5 separate regions of the Homo sapiens genome follow, and all the other regions are linked to region 3. Evidence: promoter capture Hi-C in 16 types of primary human blood cells and fetal thymus (Javierre and others, 2016). All regions are on one chromosome and are shown on one strand. Each heading gives the region's core, a stretch centred on a gene start or on the middle of the fragment in contact. The rest is flanking DNA. Distances are from core to core; before and after follow the strand shown.

Region 1 (4,186 bases), core at 986-3,485, 460 kb before region 3:
ACTATAGCCTAAATTTATGAGGATAAACTGAAAAGCAATATCTCTCTGAATATTGGGGCATGCCAGTTTTTTTCTAAGTGAATTTTCCCAAGAGCCCTATACAATTTTTTATCTCTTACTCTTCTTCCCTTCCATTCTTTTCTCAGTGCCTTAGGGTTTTCTCAATTTATCTCTAATCTAATTTGAATGGAAGATTCCTCATGAAAATGGACCCCCCTGTTATTAATTAAGTATTGCTAGCTTCCACAGCGGCCACAACTCCAAATCTCAGTGGTTTAATGACTCAAAAGTTTACTACTTATTCCGTTATGGGCTCATCTTGTGTTTATAGGGGCCTTGCTCCGCAGAGTTACTCAGGTACCTAGTCTGAAAGAAACTGCATCATCTTATAGACATATCATCTGGAAAACATGTCTTCTGAGGTCACCAAGTAAAGAGGAAAAGAGTGGGATGCGGGAGGCACCTAGCTCATAATTGTCTAAGCCAGCACTTGTGCTCATTGTCCATTGGGCAAAAGTAGTCATATGGCCTCAGCCTCACTGCAAGAGAAGCTAGGAAATGAAGAGGAGAGGATGGAGTATTTAGTGATCACTAACTCTCTTTGCTACCCTTGCTGACTAGAGTACTATGAAACCCTAGTTACATGAAAATTCAACAATCTCTTGAATATAATTCCTTTTTTTTTTTTAGAGAGGGTCTCACTTGGTAGCACAGGCAGGAGGAGTACAGTGGCATGATTATAGCTCACTGTAAACTTGAACTCCTAGGCTCAAGAGGTCCTCCCACCTCAGCCTCCCCAGTAGCAAGGACTATAGGTGCATGCCACCACACCTGGCTAATTTTTAAATTTTGTAGAGATCGGAGGGGGGGTCTCACTATGTTGCCCAGGCTGCTCTTGAACTCTTGGGCTCAAGCAATCCTTCTGCCTTGGCCTCCCAAAGTGCTGAGATTACAGGCATGAGCCACTATGCCTGGCGGAATATCATTTTTATATAACAATAATCTGTTTTCACGGACATCTGCAGGTTTTCTTTTCCTTCTTACCCTCTTCAAATTAACTCTCTAGATTTAGCTTAAATTTTTGAAACCCAAAACTATTAGTAGTATTTAATTTAGTGGTATTTAAATTAGTAGTATTTTAACGTATTAGTAGTATTTAGGATGTAAATATAAGGTTTATATTTACAAATGCACCTTTTGTAAATATAAACCTTATCTGCTGCCAGGTAGTGGACCTGGCTTTATTATCTAGCTTGTATCATCTTATATAGTTATTCCGTCACTTATTTATTGCTTGCTTTATATTTATTTGTGGACTTTTCCCCCCATGACATAATAAGAGCGAGTTAAGTGATGGTGAAAATCTCTGACTTTATCTTTTACTTGTTGATCATCTTCCTCTTTCTTTTTTGTGCTCTGTTTGGCTATTCCATTTTAGGGACAGTCCAACTTGGAAGATAGACTCTTGCATGGGACCACGGCAAGCTGTACAGGGTCTGCTTAGGCATGGATATGGACTGGGCCCTGCTGTCTGCAAGCCTAGCTATGTTTAGGTTGAGGCACCAGCTACACGGATCACTGGATTTCTGATATTCTTTAGGGAAGTCCATTGATAAAATGGTCTTGCGAATCATTGAGGCTGTCCTGGATATCACCTTGGGACACTTGGGGATCTCTTTCCATCCCAAAGAATAGGAATGTAGTTTAGGAAGGACCAGAGAACGTGTGATAGTCCATGGTCCTGGAGAGAATTAGGAAGGTATATGGGAGATGCTACAGAGTGGGACAACTCCACGGGTCCCAGTGATTCTTTTCGTTTTGTTTCTTGAAGGGATTGCATAGAATTGAGCTGAACCTCACTATGGTCGCCATGCTCAGATCATTTGTCTCTGCTGGAAATATCCCTCTTCCTTTTGGAAGTAGTACCCTTTTGTGGTTCCCTGTGTGCAATACAACCCTAGGGAAATCCATGGCCTGCAGGCGTTATCGCAGTGGGAGGTTAGGGAGGGGAATGGGGGAGTGGTTACCCTAACCTTTCTCCCTTCTTTTTCCTTCTGTTCTCCACAAGGCTTTTTGTGTTTTGTTGTTGAAAACAAAATACATCTCTGGCCTTTAAGATGAGCTGCATAGGAAGATGCATTGGATTAGGCCATAGATAAGAGCTTATCAAACATGGAGGCCGGGTACAGTGGCTCACACCTTTAATCTCAGCACTTTGAGAGGTCGAAGTGGGCGGATCACCTGAGGTCAGGAGTTCGAGACCAGCCTGGCCAACATAATGAAATCCTGTCTCTATTAAAAATACAAAAATTAGCCGGGCATGGTGGTGAATGCCTGTAATCCCAGCTCCTCGGGAGGCTGAGGCAGGATAATTGTCTGAGCCCGGGAGGCGGAGGTTGCAGTGAGCCGAGATCTTGCCACTGCACTCAAGCCTGGGTGATACAGTGAGACACTGTCTCAAAAAAAAAAAAAAAAAAAAATGGAGAGGTTTCCTCGAATATATCTTTTGTTCTGTGGGGTTCCTGCCTGCAAATCAAATGTTGGTTATCAGTGCAACTACTACAGAACCTGAGAAACAAAAAAGACTTCAAAAAATAAAAAGCAGCTCTTTCTCCTCAAGTATTTTAACCAGGAAAACTTAAAAAATTAGTCTAATTTGAAATCTTGCCTAATTTATATTCAATAGATAGTCTAAAAATGCTTCCAGATTTAAAACAGAAAGAAAATCTTAAAAGCAAATGATTTTTCTCTGTCTTTTCCTTTCTTCAGGCTTTTCCTCCAAATGCGATCATTGTATTTTTCTACTGCAGTGCAGTGACTATATTCTTCACAATAATCAAACTGGTCAGTTATCGCCTACACCTCATGTTTGACAAAGGAGAAGTAATTCAGCAAAAGCCCTCCAGAAAGGAAGAAAAGCCAAATAAAGACAAGGAGGCCAAAGGTGAACACATAACTAATCACAGAAATCCAAGGTAATATTTTCAATTAATGTGACACTTCAAAATGTAAATGTTTTGCTCTTGATTAAAATAAGTTTTTTATCAGTGTTTATGAAATTACTAGTATAGGCAGACAGAAATATATGCATTTTTCTTATATTTCAGCATATACTTAAGCATAAAATTGATATTCATAATCAAGATGGTTTAACTGGCTTCCCAATAAATGTCTTTTTGGGAAGTCAATATGACCTTCTCATAAGATCTAGAATTCATTTGCCTTAGGCTTAGCACTGCAAAAAATTTCCCTTCACTGCTTTTAATGTTGTTATTTAAATGCTTAGAGCATGCCAGAGTATTTTAAAGAACAGCATTTGTGTTTGTTGATATAAAAGTAATACATTACATAGAACTGAAATATTAAGAGTAATTCTTGAGTTAGCATTCTTTTCACCATTCTTGTATTATTTCTTATAGCTCCTTAAGATAGCATGTCCTCTAATTTAAAAATAATGTTTATTATAAGATTTATCTGCTGCAGATGGTGGCTTATGCCTGTAAACCTTGCATTTTGGGAGGTTGAGGTGGGAGGATCACTTGAGTCCAGGAGCTTGAGGCTGCAGTGAGCCATGATCGTGCCACTGCATTCCAGTCTACCCAGACAGAGCGAAGCCCTGTCTCTTAACAACAACAAAAAAAGATTTATATGTAAGGAATATAACAAAATGGACTCTAGGAAAAAAAGTTTTTAGACTAGTACTAAAAGAGTCATGCTTCTGTTTGATAATATCGCTCACTGCTCTTGTGTTTCTCATGTTGGGTTAGCAATAATAGGCAGATTCACAATGGCAAAAAGGAAGAGGCCAGTCGAAACCTCTCCACGCCTCCCCTCCGCTGCAGCTCCAGAGGGCAAAGCATAACCTCTCATCACTCTTCTGGGCCATTGGTTAGTGGTCTTCTTTCCTGTTTCACCCTCTTCATGTGATTTCGATGTTGATCTCACCTAGAATGGGAGTGTTCAGCAGCAGTGATTGTAGCTTGCATGCTGTAATCACTGGCCCGTGTACAGTGGAATATCACATCCCAGGGTCTGGAAATGGCCTGAAGGGTGCCCTTGGGACCATAAAATAAATGCCCAGTCGTGTGTTCAAAGCACACTCTCTGGCCTTCCCTGCCGTCCACCTGCGCTGCTGGGTCAACCACACTGGGCAGAGAACCAATATGTAGGCCTTTGCTTCTTTCTG
Region 2 (4,341 bases), core at 717-3,216, 440 kb before region 3:
GTATCTCTAATGGTAAAGGTAAAGAATGGAACCAGAGCAGAGCCAGTGAAATGCCAGCAGGTCAGGATTTTGCCCCATGGAAGGACCAAGTAGCTTGTACCTTACCCCTGTGTTCCCATGTGCAATATTATGGCAGTTCGTGGCCCTGAACGAGGCACTTTCCTTCAGTAGTTCGGGTAGTAACAGCCACCATTTGTTAAACACTTACACACTAAGCTAAATGTTAAATTATCTAATTTTTCTGTGCAACAAAACTAAGGCTGGTGACACTAGCTCTGTTTTACAGATAAGGAAACTAAGACTGATTGCCAAAAGTGCTCAGCTTCATGTAGATACTAAGTGGCCAGTGGACAGGTGAGTCTCCCTCCCTGCTCCCATCCCCCACCATGGCGTCACAAGCTCAGGGTTCCTCAGAGCCCAGGCAGATGTGATAAATAGGTGAAGCTGGCCCAGTGTGGAATGGTAGAGAGGAGTGGTGATGACTGCAGTAAATCAGAGGGCATTCATCCCATCTGAAGGGCATTTATCCCATCTGAAGGGCATTTATCCCATCTGAAGGGCATTCATCCCATCTGAAGGGCATTTATCCCATCTGAAGGGCATTTATCCCATCTGAAGGGCATTTATCCCATCTGAAGGGCATTCATCCCATCTGAAGGGCATTCATCCCATCTGAAGGACATTTATCCTATCTGAAGGGCTGCTGCTATGTTAGTCTACTTATGATGGCTCATAAGTCCCAGGTGATAGGATTTTCCGTTTTTTTCCACAGGGAGCTAGAAATGCATATTTGTATCTAAAAGTGTATTTTGTTTCATGTTGTTGATTTTAAGTTTCTTTTGTTTGTTTGTTTGTTTTGTTTTTTGAGATAGAGTCTCCGTCTGTCACCCAGTCTGGAGTGCAGTGGCGCGATCTGGGCTCACTGCAACCTCTGCCTCCTGGGTTCAAGTGATTCTCCTGCCTCAGCCTCCTGAATAGCTGGGATTACAGGCGCGCGCCACCACAGCCGGGCTAATTTTTTTGTATTTTTAGTAGAGACGGGGATTCAACATGTTAGCCAGGATGGTCTCAATCTCCTCACCTCGTGATCCGCCTGCCTTGGCCTCTCAAAGTGCTGGATTGCAGGCGTGAGTCACCACGCCCAGCCGATTTAAATTTTTTTTAACAACACCACAGACCACAGGTTGTGCGTGGTTGGCTGTGGCCTGTGAGCTACCTGTGGTCAGCCTCTGCCCTGCCCCCTCCAGTGGGAAAGCAGCCTCTGCCCTCCTCCCTCAGCCCTTCTTGCACACATGTGCGGCATCCAGATGCCCCTAGGTGATTCCCTGCAGGCTCCTCCAAACCACCTTGCCAAGTTCTCCACTCATTGCTCCCTTTTGAAACTCTCATCTTTGAAAGCTCAAGTTACAATCTGCCTCTGTTATGCTTCTTTTCCTTCTCAGTCCTCTCTGAAATTCATCTCTTCAAGTTGCTGCCAGGAGGATGCTGATCACAGTCTCCCTGGTATCTCATTTATTTGTAGAGGGTTCTCATCTCTTTTTCTAGATTGCATACATCTAAAACCAGCCTTTGCTTAGCCCTTTATAGGTAGGTGCTCAATAAATGTGGGATTAAATCAAATGAATCATTGGAAATGACAAAGATGGCCCAGTTGGAGTTCTGGGGTGAGGGACAGCAGGAGAAGCTAAACAGGAGGGGTGGAGTAGGGCCCTGGGGCCCATGAAACCCGGTGGAGGAGTGTGGTTTGTTCTTTATGCAGCAGGAGTGATGGGAATCTATTTGCAGAGCAAAACAACCCTGATGAATGTGGGATTATCAAAACGACCTCAACAAATAAATCCCTCATCTTTGGTGGGACGGTTGGAGGGAGAGCCAGAAGCACTAGCAGTTTGCCAGATCAATGCATTTGAACACAGAATGTGATCTTCTCCTTTTATAAGTGGGAAGGTACAGCAAAATGAAACATGTAAAATGAGCCTTTTAAAACCAATCTACATAGAAATCAGAGGTGGAGACTCAAATTAAATTTTCCAGTCCTGAGTTTTTATTATTTTTATTTTTAATTTTTTTGAGACAGGGTCTTGCTCTGTGGCCTAGGCTGGAGTGCATTGATGTGATCTCGGCTCACCACAACTTCTGCCTCCTGGGTTCAACAATTCTCCTGCCTCATCCTCTCAAGTAGCTGGGATTATAGGCATGCACCACCACACCTGGCTAATTTTTTGTATTTTTGCTAGAGACGGGGTTTTGTCATGTTGGCTAGGCTGGTCTCGAACTCGTGGCCTCAAAGTGATTTGCCCTCCTCACCTTCCCAAAGTTCTGGGATTATAGGCATGAGTCACCGCACCCAGTCCAGCCCTGTGTTTTATTAGTTCATAAGGAAACAATTTTCCCTGTCTGTATGAAAGCTAACAACAGAGGAAAATCTGACACTGAGAATTTTACTTCCTTGAAATCAGAGGTTTAGTATCTAGCTATGTGAACACAAGTTTTGTCTCGGACTTATCTGGGTTCAAATTCCAGCACTGATATTTACTTTTTGTTTGACGTTATGCAACTTGCTTAACCATCTTAAGTATCCATTTTCTAACCAAAAAATGCAGATAATACTTCTGTAATTAATTCACTGGTTTGCTTTAAAAATTAAATGTGGGCCTGGTGTGGTGGCTCATGCCTGTAATCCCAGCACTTTGGGAGGCCATGGCGGGCGGATCACAAGGTCAGGAGTTCAAGACCAGCCTGATCAACATAGTGAAACCCCGTCTCTACTAAAAATAAAAAATTAGCTGGGCATGGTGGCACATGCCTGTAGTCCCAGCTGCTTGGGAGGCTGAGGCAGGAGAATAGCTTGAACCTGGGAGGCGGAGGTTGTGGTGAGCCGAGATCACGTCACTGCACTCCAGCCAGGGCAACAGAGCAAGACTCAGTCTCAAAAAAAAATAAAAAATAAAAAATAAAGGTGATAGTACACATGCAGTGCTTAGGACAGTGCCTGCCATAGAGGGTCCTCAGTCAGTGTTAGCTGTTGTTACTGTCTTTGGATAGAAGCAGGACTTCAGGTAAACTGCACTGTGACTTGATATACCAAAAGATGTTGACTTTTGTTTCTTGATTTTTATAACAAAATATCTGATTTTATATAACAAAAGAGACTTTTGGCCAGATGGAAGCCTTTCCTCTAGTGCTTTTATGAGTTGATTTATGTGATTTTAAGGCATTCCCCTTAAATACCTGTTGTATTCCAACATCTTGGCATGTATGATAATTTTAGAGTAGGTCCTTTAATATTATGTCCTTGGCTTTTAATGCAATTAGATTTTAAGTTTTCTATTACAGTAAACAAACATAAACTTTGATTTTGAACTTGGAAGGATGCCTACTTGGGGCTGTAAGCCATTCAGCCATGGAAGATATATTGGAAAAGCAGCCTTTTCCCCATAAGGTGACTTCAGTGGCTGGGACTGTCTCCAACTGGGCCATTAAACGGCTGATTCTTATTATTGGCAAAAAAGCCATTCCTCTTAGCTATTGTTGAGCCTTGTTACCGTGTGACAGTTTTATATCCCTGACTCCCAAGTATGAATAGGGAATTGTTAGTAATGTAACTTCCATGTCTCTTTGGGGATTCCTGAAGGAAACTGGGAGAGGAAACAAATTTCTCTCCTTGGCCCCACTGTCACTGTGGGAACCAGTGCGGTTCTTGTGGACTGCTGCAGAAACATAAGCAGCATTTTCCGGTTGTACAATAGCTGTCCATAGAGCAGGTATCTTTGGTAACATTACCTAACACAGTTCTGCTTTCCCCAGAAACCAGAATGAGGAAACTACAGCTTGAATTGCAGCCTTTAGAATTGCTAGTAGGAAAAACTGCCAGAGGATAAATCCACTTGAGTATTTTATTACCCAGAACACAAGATTGATTCAGTAGTTCAGAGCCAAAATGAACTAATTTGCCCAGAAAGTTGGAATTGCTAATCTGCCTAGAAAACCAAAGTGGAAGTAGGCTATCTGCCTAGGAAGTTGGAGGTGAAGCTGCTTAGAAAGTTGAAATGTGTTTTTGAGTGCAGAGGGTTTGTTGCAGAGTGAAGTTTTATTACTACTCAGTAGATCTTGTAATTAAAGCTTGATAGTTTCTCTTTTTTGTTCAGCAAATATTTATATTTCTTTGTGTATAAATGAATCCAAGTAATATAGCAGAGCTTTCTTCTATGGACAATCTATAACCATGTTTAAGTATTAATCTGGCTTTTACGGTGTCATAAGCAATCTAATGGAAATGCATGCAAAATGCATATCATCTGCTCCCCAGTGAAATCTGATTGGAAAGACATGATATTTACA
Region 3 (4,387 bases), core at 762-3,261:
AATTCTGTCAACAACAGCATCCTGTTGGAAAACACATGGACTTTGGATTTTCATTTCCACATTTCCTCCCAGAATATTTGTAGGGGTAAGCCTTTCTGGAATAATGGAATTTGCAGGACTCACAACTTCTTCCAATGAAACATTATTGATTCTATTTTTACTACAATCAACTGTCTTTTTTTCAGTTGCATATTTCAGTTTAGTTTCTTTACTTGTGCTGGGCTCATCAAAAACTCCACTGATTTGTCTTGAGGTATCACTATTTTCAGTGAAAGATGCATCTGAATCTAAATACTTATCTTCAGGCAGTTGTGGCTTCTGACTTTGTTCTGCAGAGCTTAATAGTTTAACTTTGGATGACGGAATTCTGAATTTTGTACCCAACATTTGTGATTGTCTTTTTCTATATAGTTCTCTTTTTTCATGTACCACCAACATATCAGGATTTGTCAGCTTTAAACGTAGTCTTAGTGTATTTGTTAAGCCATAAAGTAGCCTCCCTTTTGGAACTCTTTTATGGAGGGCACCACTGCTCTTTTCAGAATATTTATCTTCCTTATAGTTTTCAATTTGGTTCTTTTTATACTGAAGACTCACTGACTTTTCACATCCCCCCACAGAACGCTTATCCTTCTTGGCTTCAGACCGGCATGTGGATTTGGCAGAAGATTCGGGTGACTTCTTATCCTCAGTCCTATATAACCAGGCTAGGTGAGGATGTATATGAGCAGGACTTGTCACAGGTTGGTCATATAACAAGGACAACTCAACTAACAAAGCATTTAACAAAGGCAACTGCCTTATTGTATTAATTCGATTTTGTTCAGTTTGACATGTTTGATTAGTTGCTCCTATATTCTGAATATGTGGAGGATTTACAAGCATTGGAGGATGTTCGTGTGCTGCAGAACTTGGATGCTTTAGACAACTCCTGTGTGCTGGGGGATTTACACGCTTTTTTTCAGGAGAAGCATCATCCATTTCCTCAGGTGCATTCATTTGAGGCTCAATGGTGATTTTAGCCTGTGCAGGGGGCGGTTTTTCTTGGGTCAAGTTAGTGTAATACAAAGGAGGAGGGCAAAATATATTGGTCTCCATGTCCAATTCTGTGACTTCCTCATTTAGGGAGCTAACATTTCTCCCATTGCCAGCACCTGAACATGTAACAACAGAATTGGTTTTGCCATTCTCCACAGAACCCACATTATCACATTCGGCCTTACTTTTAACCATTTCCTTCAAATCCTTCTGTGCCTCTGGGATTTCTAACTCCCCCAGCGGCTTATCAGCCTCTTTTGGGCTTGGCTGTGAGGCTGGCTGCTGCAGCTGCTGTCTTTCCTGCTGGGTTTGGGGACTGACCTCCGCTCCTCCTCCTGTGCGGGTGAAGGTGAGGGGCCGCTCAAGTTGGCTCAGCAGGCGGCTTCCCAGGTCAGTCAGGCGGTAGGCCAGTGCAATGTCCCCAGTCCGCTCGCCCACTCGATTATGCAGGGGGAAACGTCCCCGGTGACGGTGGGAGCATCCGGAGGCGGCCGGCCCCACGACCCTGTGCGCTGCGGTGGCCAGCGAAATGTCGCAGGCCCCCAGGAGCTGTGGGGTGGGCGTCGGGCGCCCAGGGGGCAGCTGCAGCAGCAAGGTGGCAAGCGGGGTCCGCAGGAGCCGGCAGTGCAGGGTAGCAGGCTGCAGGCGGAAGAGGCAGGACTTGCCGCGACCGAAGCGGATGACACCGGGCCACGGTTCGGCGGCGGGAGCGCCGGGGCCGTCAGGAGGGTAAACCAACAGCGTGGGGAAGTCCAGCAGGCGGAAGGCCACGGCGGGGCACAGACCGCGCGGCGACGAGGCCTCCCCCTGCTCCTTTTCCTCCTCTTCCTCCTCCTGCTCCACTGCGGCAGCGGGGGACGGCAGCAGCCGGGCTTCCAAACGCACCCAGTCCACCAGCAGCTCCAGCGAGAAGAGCCGCTCGGACAGCGAGGCCGCCATTGCTGTTGCCCCAGGAAACGCCGCCGCGGGCTCCGCAAACGAGAAGCTGAAGCCCCGGGGTCTCACGAGAAACCGGAGCAAAAGGCATCGCTGCCTGCTATCTCGCGAGATTTGCGGAAGCGCTCCAGCGGGTCTCGGGCGGTGTCTGCTTTGGGGGTTTTGCTGCTCAATGTGTTTGGCCCCTTTGTATGCATACTTGTGAGCCGTTTTTTGCCACCAACCTTGTATTAAGACAATTGATGATAATGCTGAGGATATAAGTGGTAAAAGACAGTGAGTTTTTTGGGTAATGGTTTTATCACTGCAGATCTTATGTAACTTGGGGGTCAGATCAATATACCTGAGGAATATTGAAAGAAAATCAGGACTCTCCTTCCTTTCCCATGCTAAACAGAGCCAGTTAGTTAACTGTCCACAGTGGGCCATCTCTGTGTCTGCTGTTCTACCCAAAAGATGGTGACACTGCTGGGATGGCCAGGGAGCCCCTGCCTCATCAATTACAGTAGTACTGAGACAGACACACCACACACACACGGAGTGTGAATACACTGGCAAAAACTCTCCTTGGCTGAACTTTGGTCAGGCTCATCTAAGCCTTCTTTCCGACTAGGCCTTGACCTTGGCTTCCAATCCTGTGGACCCTGGATCACCGAGTTGTAGCAAAGGTCTCGCTACGGCTGTTGAGAGAGAACCCCCAACCCTTCATACCTGATTACCGTCGATACCTGATCAAATTCTTCATTTTCTATCATTGGTATCTGACCACCCTGGCCTGGCTTCAGCAAGAATCCTATTAGGCCTGCTTAATCAGAACCCTCCCACCCGTGATGTTCCCTATCAGTAAGTTTCCATCCACTTGACCTGACGCCCCCTTGGCTTTAAATCCCCACTTGTCCATGCTGTAATTGGAATTGAGCCCAGCTCTGTATTGAGGTCTCTTTTCTCTTATTGCAGTAGTTCCTGACTACAGTGTTTTTGCCACTTCAACTACTGTCTGGCCCTGTTTTTTATTTGACAACATTTCCAGCTAAGCAATCATGATGCATGAGAGTAATGTTAATGATTCCATCAATAAAACAAATGTGTGTACATAAATATACACACATCTACAGAGACACACAGAACTTGCTGCTCTATCCAGATATTTTAAGAAACATACTCCTAACCTCAATGAGCTAGCCAGCTAGGAATCCAAGGCCAGTTTTTGGAGAGCCTTGAATGCCATGGTAAAGAATTTGGACTATATTCTGTCCAAATTTTTTTGATTGAATAAGTACATCATAGCAATATTTGGAAATGTATCATGGGGAGGAATACAAAGGATGGATTCTACTAATTAGAAATTGGATTCAGAGCAATCTATTAGAAGACTACTGCAGTGGTCTAAGAGGCAGATAATTATGACCTGCACATGGTCAGGACTAGTGGAAATTAAAAAGAGGTGGCAGAAGAGGCATTTGTGATGGAGGAATTTTAAAATTTGGTGAATGGGAAAGAAAAGTCATGGGTGAAAAACTTCTGCTACTGAAGGTGAAAATATTGAGGAGGCACAGATTTGACGGAAAAAAATACTTTGAGTTTTGAGATATGTAAAGCTTGAGGTACCTGCTGCTGGGCATTATATATGTACCGCTTTATTCAGCTTTATAAATTATAGTTAAATTATATTGCTTCAGTGCTCAGAAGAACATTGTGAAGCTCAAGAGAAATTCAGAACTGGAGGGATATGATGCTTTAGTGTGAAGACGTGAGAGAGAAGTCTCATTGCAATATATAAATACAAGATACTTCTCGGACCAGATGCGGTGGCTCACGCCTGTAATCCCAGCACTTTGGGAGGCCGAGGCAGGCAGAACACGAGGTCAAGAGATCGAGGCCATCCTGGCCAACATGATGAAACCCCGTCTCTACTAAAAATACAAAAATCAGCTGGGTGTGGTGGTGCATGCCTGTAATCCCAGGTACTTGGGAGGCTGAGGCAGGAGAATCGCTTGAACCAGGGAGTTGGAGGTTGCAGTGAGTGAGCCGAGATCGCACCACTGCACTCCAGCCTGGTGACAAAGCGAGACTCCATCTAAAAAAAAAAAAAAAAATTACAAGATACTTCTCTTGGCTTTGAGAATCTTGCTATATACTTGCAGAGGACACATATCAAGCAACATCCTCAATGGATAGATGATGTAGAGCAATAAAAAAAAGACATCATCACAAGTGAAAAGCAATGAGGTATTGAGTCCATGTGCGCCAGAGAAATACAGTAGACAAAATTCCTCTTAGAAGATATCCTGTAGTTAGCCTTTTGAGTAAAGTTAATAGTGTGCACTAGTAGCACTTGTATGTCTCTTACATATGAATAGAAAAAGCGAAGTCCCTCTTCTATAAAGACATTATTTCTGCAATATGTAGTTTC
Region 4 (4,218 bases), core at 867-3,366, 420 kb before region 3:
GATATATAGAGGTTAGAAATAGAAGCTCTGCAGGGGGCTGGGGTATCTAGAGAAGGCTTAAGATAGTAGCAAGAAGTGACAAGCAAACGGTCAAACAATGAAGGAGGAGCTGCATGGGAGCTTTGGTTTTAACAGCTTCTGTACACGGAGAACGGGAAACAAAACACAGGTGGGATGTCCAATAGGAGGCTCTCCACTTCATCTGGGACCTCACTGTTAGGATTAACTAAACACATTCTATTACCAACATCTTCACTAGGGGGACTACATGGAAAACTGCGTGTTCCCAACCTTGTTCCAGGCTCCTAAGAATCCCTCATTAAGTATTTGATAGACAAATCAATGAAGACTAATTTTTTTTTTTCAAAATTGAATTCTTTTCCACTGAATTAGAGCTAATAAGAGATGAATTAGGGGTTAAAACTTTTACTATCTGGGTCTAAATTTCTCCACATTTTAGTTTTAATGATTTAGATTTTTTCAATAAATATTTCAGTTTTTCTTATAGCAGGCTTCACCAATAACCTAGATATTGCCAATGAAAATCTTTTTACTCTTAGTAAAATTTGAATATGTATCTCAACATTAACACACTTTTCAGAAATGAAGTCATTTAAGATCTTTTATTGAATTCCTACTTTTCATAAGAACTATTTTTATAGCAGTTTCTTGGCCTTAATGAGCAGTAGCATTTTGACGTGATGAGTAGCAGAATTTTAATGGTACGTTGTAAAGAAATTGAAGTATGTTGGTAAGAAAAGCGCTTTTTGTTGATCATTATCCTTTTCTTAGAGTATTTAGTTTGAATGAAATATGTTGGTTTACATATCAGAATTTGAACATTTGCTTTTTGTATTTTTAAATTATGGTGTACATATATATGTGTGTGTGTGTATACATATATATATATATTTGTGGCCATGCCATGACAACATAAAGCCCTTTTTTCTGTTGTTTCTTTTGGTATCTAAAAGCATGTGAGTCAGGATCTGGAAGCCTCGTCATGTTCTTCAACACAAGGAAAATTTAACCGAGAGCAGTTTTACAAATTTATCATTTTCCCTGGCAAGTGGATTAAAGTCTGGTATGATCGACTGACCTTGCTGGCATTACTTGATCGGTAAGCCACTGAGCATGCACACACACTGTCGGAAGGCACACCGGGGACGTGACAGTGCCCACTGCATGCTTTCAAAGAGAACATTGTCACTTGCACATTTTCAAGTTGTACGCTTCCTTTGCTGACAACCCAAAGTTAAAGCAAAAAGATCCTGACAACAAATTGTAGTTCAGCAGTTACAATGAGAAATAAGAGAGTTACAATAAGTAACTCTTATTAATAATAAATTAACATATTAATAATAAGAGATAATGAGAAATAATAAGTTACAATAAGAAATAAGAAATGGTTTGTATTTAAGGTTTGTTTGGGCACAGTAGCATGCTTTGGTGTACTCACGTCTTGCCCTATTTTTGTGGGAAAGCTTGAGGCCCATCTGTAGCACAGGGCCTGGCTTGACTGGGTGTGGGCATGGGGAGAGGAGGGAAGATGAAGTAGGGTGATTTCTGCCTCTTTCCCGGACACCTTGGATTCTTATTGCTCACTTGTATCTGATGTACACTCACTTGAATGTTAATTTTTCCTTTAATCTCCTTTCCCCTTTCTCACCTCCTCCTACCACTGTTCCATACAGCAAAACGTTGTGGGGTTGGAGCTGTGGTTACTGGGTAGGGAGAAAGAGGAGGAGAAGTTAAGGTTAGTTAAAACATGATGGAGGCTGGGCATGGTGGGTCAAGCCCGTAATCCCAGCACTTTGGGAGGCTGAGGCGGGCAGATCACCTGAGGTCAGGAGTTCAAGACCAGCCTGACCAACATGGTGAAATCCTATCTCTACTAAAAATACAAAAATTAGCCGGGTGTGGTGGTGCATGCCTGTAGTTCCAGCTACTCAGGAGGCTGAGGCTAGAGAATTGCTTGAACCCAGGAGGCGGAGGCTGCAGTGAGCTGAGATTGTGCCACTGCACTCCAGCCTGCACAACAAGAGCAAAACTTAATCTCCCCCCCACCCAGAAAAAAGAAAACATGATGGAGATGGGCCTAAGGAGTGGGGGCTTCTCATTTGTATCTTTTCCTACCTCAAAATTTGCACATAACAGTTTATGATGTTCAGGGGCTGAGTAGCACTGACTACACGGTTGGCTTGAAAATTTCAGATGCTATTACTAATGCTGCCATAAGCAATTGCTGAGTTTCACAGTTTAATGCCAGCTCTTGGGGGCAGTGGAAAAACTGGTTGCCTGTCTTGTTGTCATTGGTCCCCCAGTGACTGGTTTTTATAGTAATGTCTTAAATAGTGTGATCACATATGAAAAAAACTATAGTCATGCAAAATTACAACAGTAAATTTCAGGACCCACAAGTCAGGGAATGGAGTTATAATGGTTTTCCTAACAACACTATGTTACCCAAGGGGCACACACTTAGAAGGAACATTTAATACTTAACTAAAAATCCAAGATAGTATATTCTGGTAAATGAGGCATTTTTGAAATATTAATTATTTTCTGTTAAAAAGAAATTATTGAAAGTTGGACTAGCTTGCATTAACCCTTCATGTCAAAACAAAAATAAATGTATCTATAGATTTGTCTGTTATTTTAAAATCTACTTGGTGACAAAAAATTAATTGGAAATCCATTGGAAGTCTAGGAAGGATGATGAGGATGACCGCACTTTTTAAAAGCTTATGTTTTCATTATTTTAATCACCTTTCTGGCAAGTTACAATGGGTTTTTAAATGTTGTGCTTAGGGATGACCTAGAAATAGCACCATTCCCTTATCCATAGATCCTTCAGCTGGTTGGGGAATCCCTGGACTCGAGTCAGCCTTGGGAATTAAACCTGGTCCCTACTACTTATTAGTGCTATGATCTTAGGATGGCTATGAAACCTTCCAGTGCGTCCGTTTCCTATCTGTTAAATGGGTATAATCTATACACAGGGAGGTTGTAAAGATTAAATCAATTTAGTCATTGAAAGAGTTCTTTAAATATTAGTTGCTCCTATTATTATTATTATTACTTGGAATGTGGCCCAGCTCCCAGAAAGAAGAAAAATTAAAAATAAATAAAATTAGGCTAGCCAAAGTAGATGTTGTCAAATCCAGACACTAAAATTTAGACTGTTAGTTCATAGGTAACATAACATTTTTTTTTTTTTTTTTTTTTTTTTTTTACTTTAGTTCTGGGATACATGTGCAGAACGTGCAGGTTTGTTACACAGGTATACATGTGCCGTGGTGGTTTGCTGCACCTATCAACTCGTCATCTAGGTTTTAAGCCCCACATTCATTAGGTATTTGTTCTGATGCTCTCCCTCCCCTTGCCCCCCAAACCCTGACAGGCCCCGGTGTGTGATGTTCTCCTCCCTGTGTCTATATGTTCTCATTGTTCAACTCCCACTTACGAGTGAGAATATGTGGTGTTTGGTTTTCTGTTCCTGTGTTAGTTTGCTGAGAATGAGGCAACGTCACTTTTAATTCAGAGCCATATAAGCCTACCAAAAGTCATCAGTTAGCAGGATTGGTGATCTGGTTTTATAATTTAGAGTCAATTAAAATAAGGAAAGGGACTACATGAACTCACAGCTCACAGTGAGGAAGGAGGAAGAAACCCAAAATACTGACCTAGAAAAACTGAGCTGTTTGGGACCTTTGCAAGGAGAGCATAATCCCCAAACAGGGCTGTGGGTCGGAATCATTGGGGAAGCTGGGTAAAAATGCATAATATGCATAATAAAAACAAACTGTAAGAGCTAGGCAGGAAGCGGAAGAAAGCAGTGGGTAACAAGCACTAAAATTGCAGTAATCATTGCTATAAACTCCCATAGATTAAGTCATCCTGCATGACATTCTTCAAAAGAGTCAGGCTGTTCTTCCTTAAAAATGTTTTCTTAGTCTTTGGGCAGTAGTTTCATGGTTCCTGCCGTTGCAGTTCCAGCTATTTGCCTGCAGTTCTCCACCTATTCTACTCAGATGTTTCTGGACTTGTCCTATTCTCCTTACTTATATTCTCTGATTTCATATCTTGCCATTACCCTTTCCTTCAAAACACTGAGGGTTTATTTTCATTTATCTAGTCGATCAGGTCAGCATCTGAAATAAGAAGTTGCCCTTCTGTGCATTATTTCAACATTTCATTCATTCAACAAATATGAAC
Region 5 (4,483 bases), core at 533-3,032, 370 kb before region 3:
TAACTTGTGGAATGCTAAGAAAGGTAAAAACACCTTTAAATAAGGAAGAGGATCAGGCTATGACCTAATGCTTGCTTGGACCAGTATAAGCATGCCAGAGCAAGTATTTAGGCTAAATTGTGGGAGCTAAGAACATAAAGTACATTGATTTCTTTATCACGGCTAGCAGATATTTAAGAATGTTAGCACAGGTCTTTGAATAAATTTTGCTTCTAAGAGAAGTTACTATTTATTCCTAATTAAATGGGGAGGAAAGTCTTTGAAGAGGAACCTTTACTTTATTTTTTTACAAGCCCTTTAGAGCATCTTTTTTTTTCTTTAGAGACAGAATCTCACTGTCTCCCAGGCTGGAGTGCAGTGGCATGATCTCGGCTCACTGCAAGCTCCGCCTCCCAGGTTCACACCATTCTCCTGCCTCAGCCCGAGTAGCTGGGACTACAGGTGCCCGCCACCATGCCCAGCTAATTTTTTGTATTTTTTTAGTAGAGACGGGGTTTCACCGTGTTAACCAGGATGGTCTCGATCTCCTGACCACGTGATCTGCCTGCCTCAGCCTCCCAAATTGCTGGGATTACAGGCGTGAGCCACCGCCCCCAGCCTAGAGCATCTTGATGGTGGCTGTTGTGCACACATGGTGTGGCCACTTAGGTGGCCCTCAGGTGGCTGCAGTTTGCCAGGATAGTCACATGAATCACATTCAGTCCGTTTTGTGTATTGCTGGCACCAAACAGCAGGTGGGCTCTGCACAAATGAAAGCTTGTCAGATAAACGTTTAGCCAACCTGCCCTCCTGATGTGGTCCACACACAGCTGTTCTCCACATCTTCTCCCCTAAGCACCATGCTTAGTTCAGAGCATTCTTTCAAAGTTGATGTCTGCATAGCGATTGCTTGGGGCCCTTGGACTTTAGACTTATGGCTGGGTCACAGAGAAGGGGGCAACCACACTGGGTGGAGCACGGGAGAAGAAAAGGAAGAAGGAGAGAAAGGAAGGAACAAGAGAATCCTACAACTATAAAATAATGATGCCATTTCCTTGTTCACCAGGATAAGGGCTCTGGACAGCTTCAAAAGTTCTTTTAGCAGATGTCGTTTCTTTGGTATCAACTTACAAACATTCATACTTTGAAACACAATGCTCATTAATTGTGTAAGCTCCCATACATCTGAGTATTGAGCTTGGAGCCTCTGATGTCCTTGACTCACACTTTTCCTGGTTTTCTTAGGAATGACAGATAAAAGGAAAAGAGAAATAGTCTGTTGATCCAGCCAGGACTGTGTCTCATTTGTCTTGATATCCACAGAGCCAGTGCCCGGTGTTACAGTGGGTGCTCAGTACAGTTCATGGAATTTCGATGAATTTAATTGCAGTCTGCCATTTCAAGACGACGTACAGGACTCACAGCCAACATGATAGCCTTAAAAAAATTCATACTCAGCTTTTGTGCCTTTGAGTGTGGTCAGAATTCAAACTAGTATTAAGGCTTTTTTTCCACTACAAGGGAATCAAAGGACAAATCACTTAATATGAGTAAGGGCATAGTTCATGAATTTTAGGAGCAGAGATACATTTAAAAGCAGGTTAAAAGTCAAAGCAGCTGGGCCTGATGAGATGGCAGCTTAAAAAAAAAGAGAAATATTTGACATAAGCCTAGCATCCACAACCTGACCTCTAATATTTATACCAGGAGACTTACAGGGAGAAGGTCAAACTGACATTCCTACAGCATTTTCTGTAAAAGCCGTAGGGTGGCCCAGAGTCTACCCAAAAGTCTCCCCATGGATATCTGAGAAAAACTATGCCCTTCAATCTTCCTTGATTTCATGACTAATGAAGATGCATTTCTACTTTCTGATTTATTGCAGTTAAAAAAAAGGTAGGAATTACAAGGAAATTTGACAAGAAATTTGCCCAGCAGAGGTTGATAGTATTTCATTGGTATAATTAGATGTGATGGGCTAGGTGTTGCCTCCCTTGGTTTTCATACCCTTTGAAATGCTTTGTACAGTGTGGAGCACATAACTTGTTAGGTGATTTAATAAGATGTTTGTGTTCATTTCTCTGAAAAGTCTCTGGCCTAATTATAATATTTTAATGGGAATATCACATTCAGCTTTTAGAGTTTGATATAATACCTTCTGTGACACTGTGCAAGCATAAACCCCCCTCCCATTGTCTCTGATTTTGTTTCTCTGTGTCTCCAGCTCTTATTTTCTCTGTCTGTCTGTCTCTCTTCTTGAGTTTTAGTCTGTATGAGAACCCCTCAGGGAGCCTCATTAGATTTCAGTTTTCTAGCCCTCTGCCCATATTCTGATTCATCTGGCCTGTGAGGGGGTCTGAGGATCTTCATTTTAACAAGAATGTTCACCCAGGTGATTCTGTTTAGGTGATCCACAGATTGCACTTCAGGAAACATTGATCTAGAAACAGAGATATACCAATGGGCCTATACATTTGCATATGAGCAAGATAAGTTATGCACACAAAGTTTATCACCAAAATTCATTACTTAATAAAGATATAAACTTTCCGCTAATGGTTTACCTGGTTAGTCTTTTTCTATTTGTCTTATTAGCACAGACTCTTTTAACTTTCATATCTTTGTCATTTTCAACACCCTTTATTATGTTTAGATTTGTTTGTTTCACTGTATCAATTTTCTTCAGTTCCTAGAAACAAAAAAAAGCCTATTTAATTCTTATGTGTAAAATTCAAACAGTCTTTTCCTAAATCATTGGTTATAATATCTAGATTTTTCTGGTCCCATGCTGCTAGATGTGGAATGTTGGAACAGGGGTTCTTAAGCTTCCTTTGAGAGTTGGAGTGTGAAGTACTATATAAAATGCCACAGTGAATTTAAAATGTTCAGTATATGAAAAGCTAATATATTTCTTAGTTAAACATGCACGGATTTACCATAAATCCAAAAATTTATATATAAATTTATATATAAATTTTTCATTTTTTTCTCTTTGCAGCCTTACACTGGCCAGAACTTCTAAAACAATATTCAATAATATTAATAGTTTGCTATTTTACATTATATAAAATATAAATTATATATTACATATTATATATAATTTATATAAAATATAAATTAAATATATAACATAATTTTTATATAATATATAATATAAATTAAATACATATTTATTATAATACTATATAATATATAAAATATGTTATATATTACATATAATATATAATTTATTATATATAATATACAAATTAAATATATTTATATATAATTTTATATATTATATATAAAATTTAAATTATATATTTGTTTTATGTATATATAAAATGAAAAGCAAAATAGTAAAGAGTAAAGAGCAAAGAGAAAAAGAAAAAAATGATGATTTATATGTGTATATAAAACTTTTCTGTGCATACTATATAATCAACTATGATTAATAAGAGTATTCATAAATACAACCAGAGAAAAGAAAATTTAGAAAAGCAAGAACTTTCTAACATACCAGAAATAACCTATGAAAATGTGATCCAACTCACAATACCAACAAAATGTCTGAATTGATAATGGAAATGATTTCTAACAAGTAGTGTCACAAATAAAGTAAACTAACTACCGCAGTTTATTAAAATGTAAATGATGTTCTGAATAAGTGGAGATAGACATAACCTGATTTTGGATAGGAAGGCTGAGATTTATAAAATGCCAATTCTTTCTAATGAATTTGTAGGTTTCATATAATTCAAAACAGTTCCAAAGGCATTATATTCCCAACATTGATAAATGATTCTAAGGTTCCTTTAGAAGAATAGCAGCTAATAGTTTTTAAAAACTTGAGAAAGAAGCATAAGAAAAAGGAACTTAGCACTTTTAGATTTAAGAGTGAAGACTGGGCTGGGCATGGTGGCTCACACCTATAATGCCAGCACTTTCGGAGGCCGAGGCGGGTGGATCACCTGAGGTCAGGAGTTCGAAACCAGCCTGGCCAACATGGTGAAACCCCATCTCTACTAAAAATACAAAATTAGCCAGGTGTGGTGGCACATGCCTCTAGTCTCAGCTACTTGGGAGGCTGAGGCAGGAGAATCACTTGAACCCGGGAGGTGGAGGTTGCAGCGAGATCGCGCCACTGCATTCCAGCCTGGGCAACAAGAGTGAAGCTCTGTCTTTAAAAAGAGAAAAAAAAAAAAAGAGTGAAGACTGAATAATCAGAAAAAAGTATGAGACTATCCAAGATCAGAGAATGGGATTAGTGGATCAGAAAAACACAGAAAGGAGACAGACTCTTTTATGAATGTATTATGTCAAAATTAAATGTCACAATCAAAAATTGATTTTCAGAGTCTAGTGTTGAGGTAATTGTTTAGCAGTGGGAAAGAAAAATGAATCTTATGTGCTAGTCCCTCGCCAGACACCAATGTAAATGAGAGAGGGATTTAAGAGTTTCAGAAAGTGAGAGAGAGGAAGAGGGAAAAGAAAACGAGGAAAGTCACGTGGGACTTTTTCATTT

Evidence for each region. The method cuts DNA at HindIII sites, captures the fragments that hold promoters and counts their contacts. A CHiCAGO score of 5 or more calls a contact.
Region 1: a fragment that was not itself captured here is called in contact with the fragment with the promoter of MAP10 in region 3 in 1 of 17 cell types (M1 macrophages); the score reaches 5.0 in M1 macrophages.
Region 2: a fragment that was not itself captured here is called in contact with the fragment with the promoter of MAP10 in region 3 in 5 of 17 cell types (M1 macrophages, M0 macrophages, monocytes and 2 more); the score reaches 9.2 in M1 macrophages.
Region 4: a fragment that was not itself captured here is called in contact with the fragment with the promoter of MAP10 in region 3 in 1 of 17 cell types (M1 macrophages); the score reaches 5.1 in M1 macrophages.
Region 5: a contact is called between a fragment that was not itself captured here and the fragment with the promoter of MAP10 in region 3, in 1 of 17 cell types (M1 macrophages). The highest score is 5.1, in M1 macrophages.

What each region holds. Positions count from the first base shown.
Region 1 is chr1:233,261,747-233,265,932 of GRCh38, reverse strand. PCNX2 (pecanex 2) reads left to right here. Exons shown (of 34, transcript NM_014801.4): 2 at 2,770-2,975; 3 at 3,768-3,888. Among named protein-coding and RNA genes, the nearest start is that of PCNX2, 32 kb to the left of the region's middle. The HindIII fragment of the contact is 4,475 bases long and covers 1-4,186 here.
Region 2 is chr1:233,242,440-233,246,780 of GRCh38, reverse strand. The region is part of intron 8 of PCNX2 (pecanex 2); the gene reads left to right. Among named protein-coding and RNA genes, the nearest start is that of PCNX2, 51 kb to the left of the region's middle. RefSeq lists a silencer at 3,564-3,858. The HindIII fragment of the contact is 4,317 bases long and covers 1-4,124 here.
Region 3 is chr1:232,803,040-232,807,426 of GRCh38, reverse strand. It overlaps MAP10 (microtubule associated protein 10), which reads right to left and starts at 2,011. Exons shown (of 1, transcript NM_019090.3): 1 at 1-2,011. The coding sequence starts at 1,977. RefSeq lists enhancers at 1,022-1,618, 1,828-1,907, 1,619-2,216. The HindIII fragment of the contact is 4,755 bases long and covers 1-3,574 here.
Region 4 is chr1:233,224,128-233,228,345 of GRCh38, reverse strand. It overlaps PCNX2 (pecanex 2), which reads left to right. Exons shown (of 34, transcript NM_014801.4): 10 at 975-1,120. Among named protein-coding and RNA genes, the nearest start is that of PCNX2, 69 kb to the left of the region's middle. The HindIII fragment of the contact is 1,260 bases long and covers 1,487-2,746 here.
Region 5 is chr1:233,172,848-233,177,330 of GRCh38, reverse strand. The region is part of intron 17 of PCNX2 (pecanex 2); the gene reads left to right. Among named protein-coding and RNA genes, the nearest start is that of PCNX2, 120 kb to the left of the region's middle. The HindIII fragment of the contact is 2,048 bases long and covers 759-2,806 here.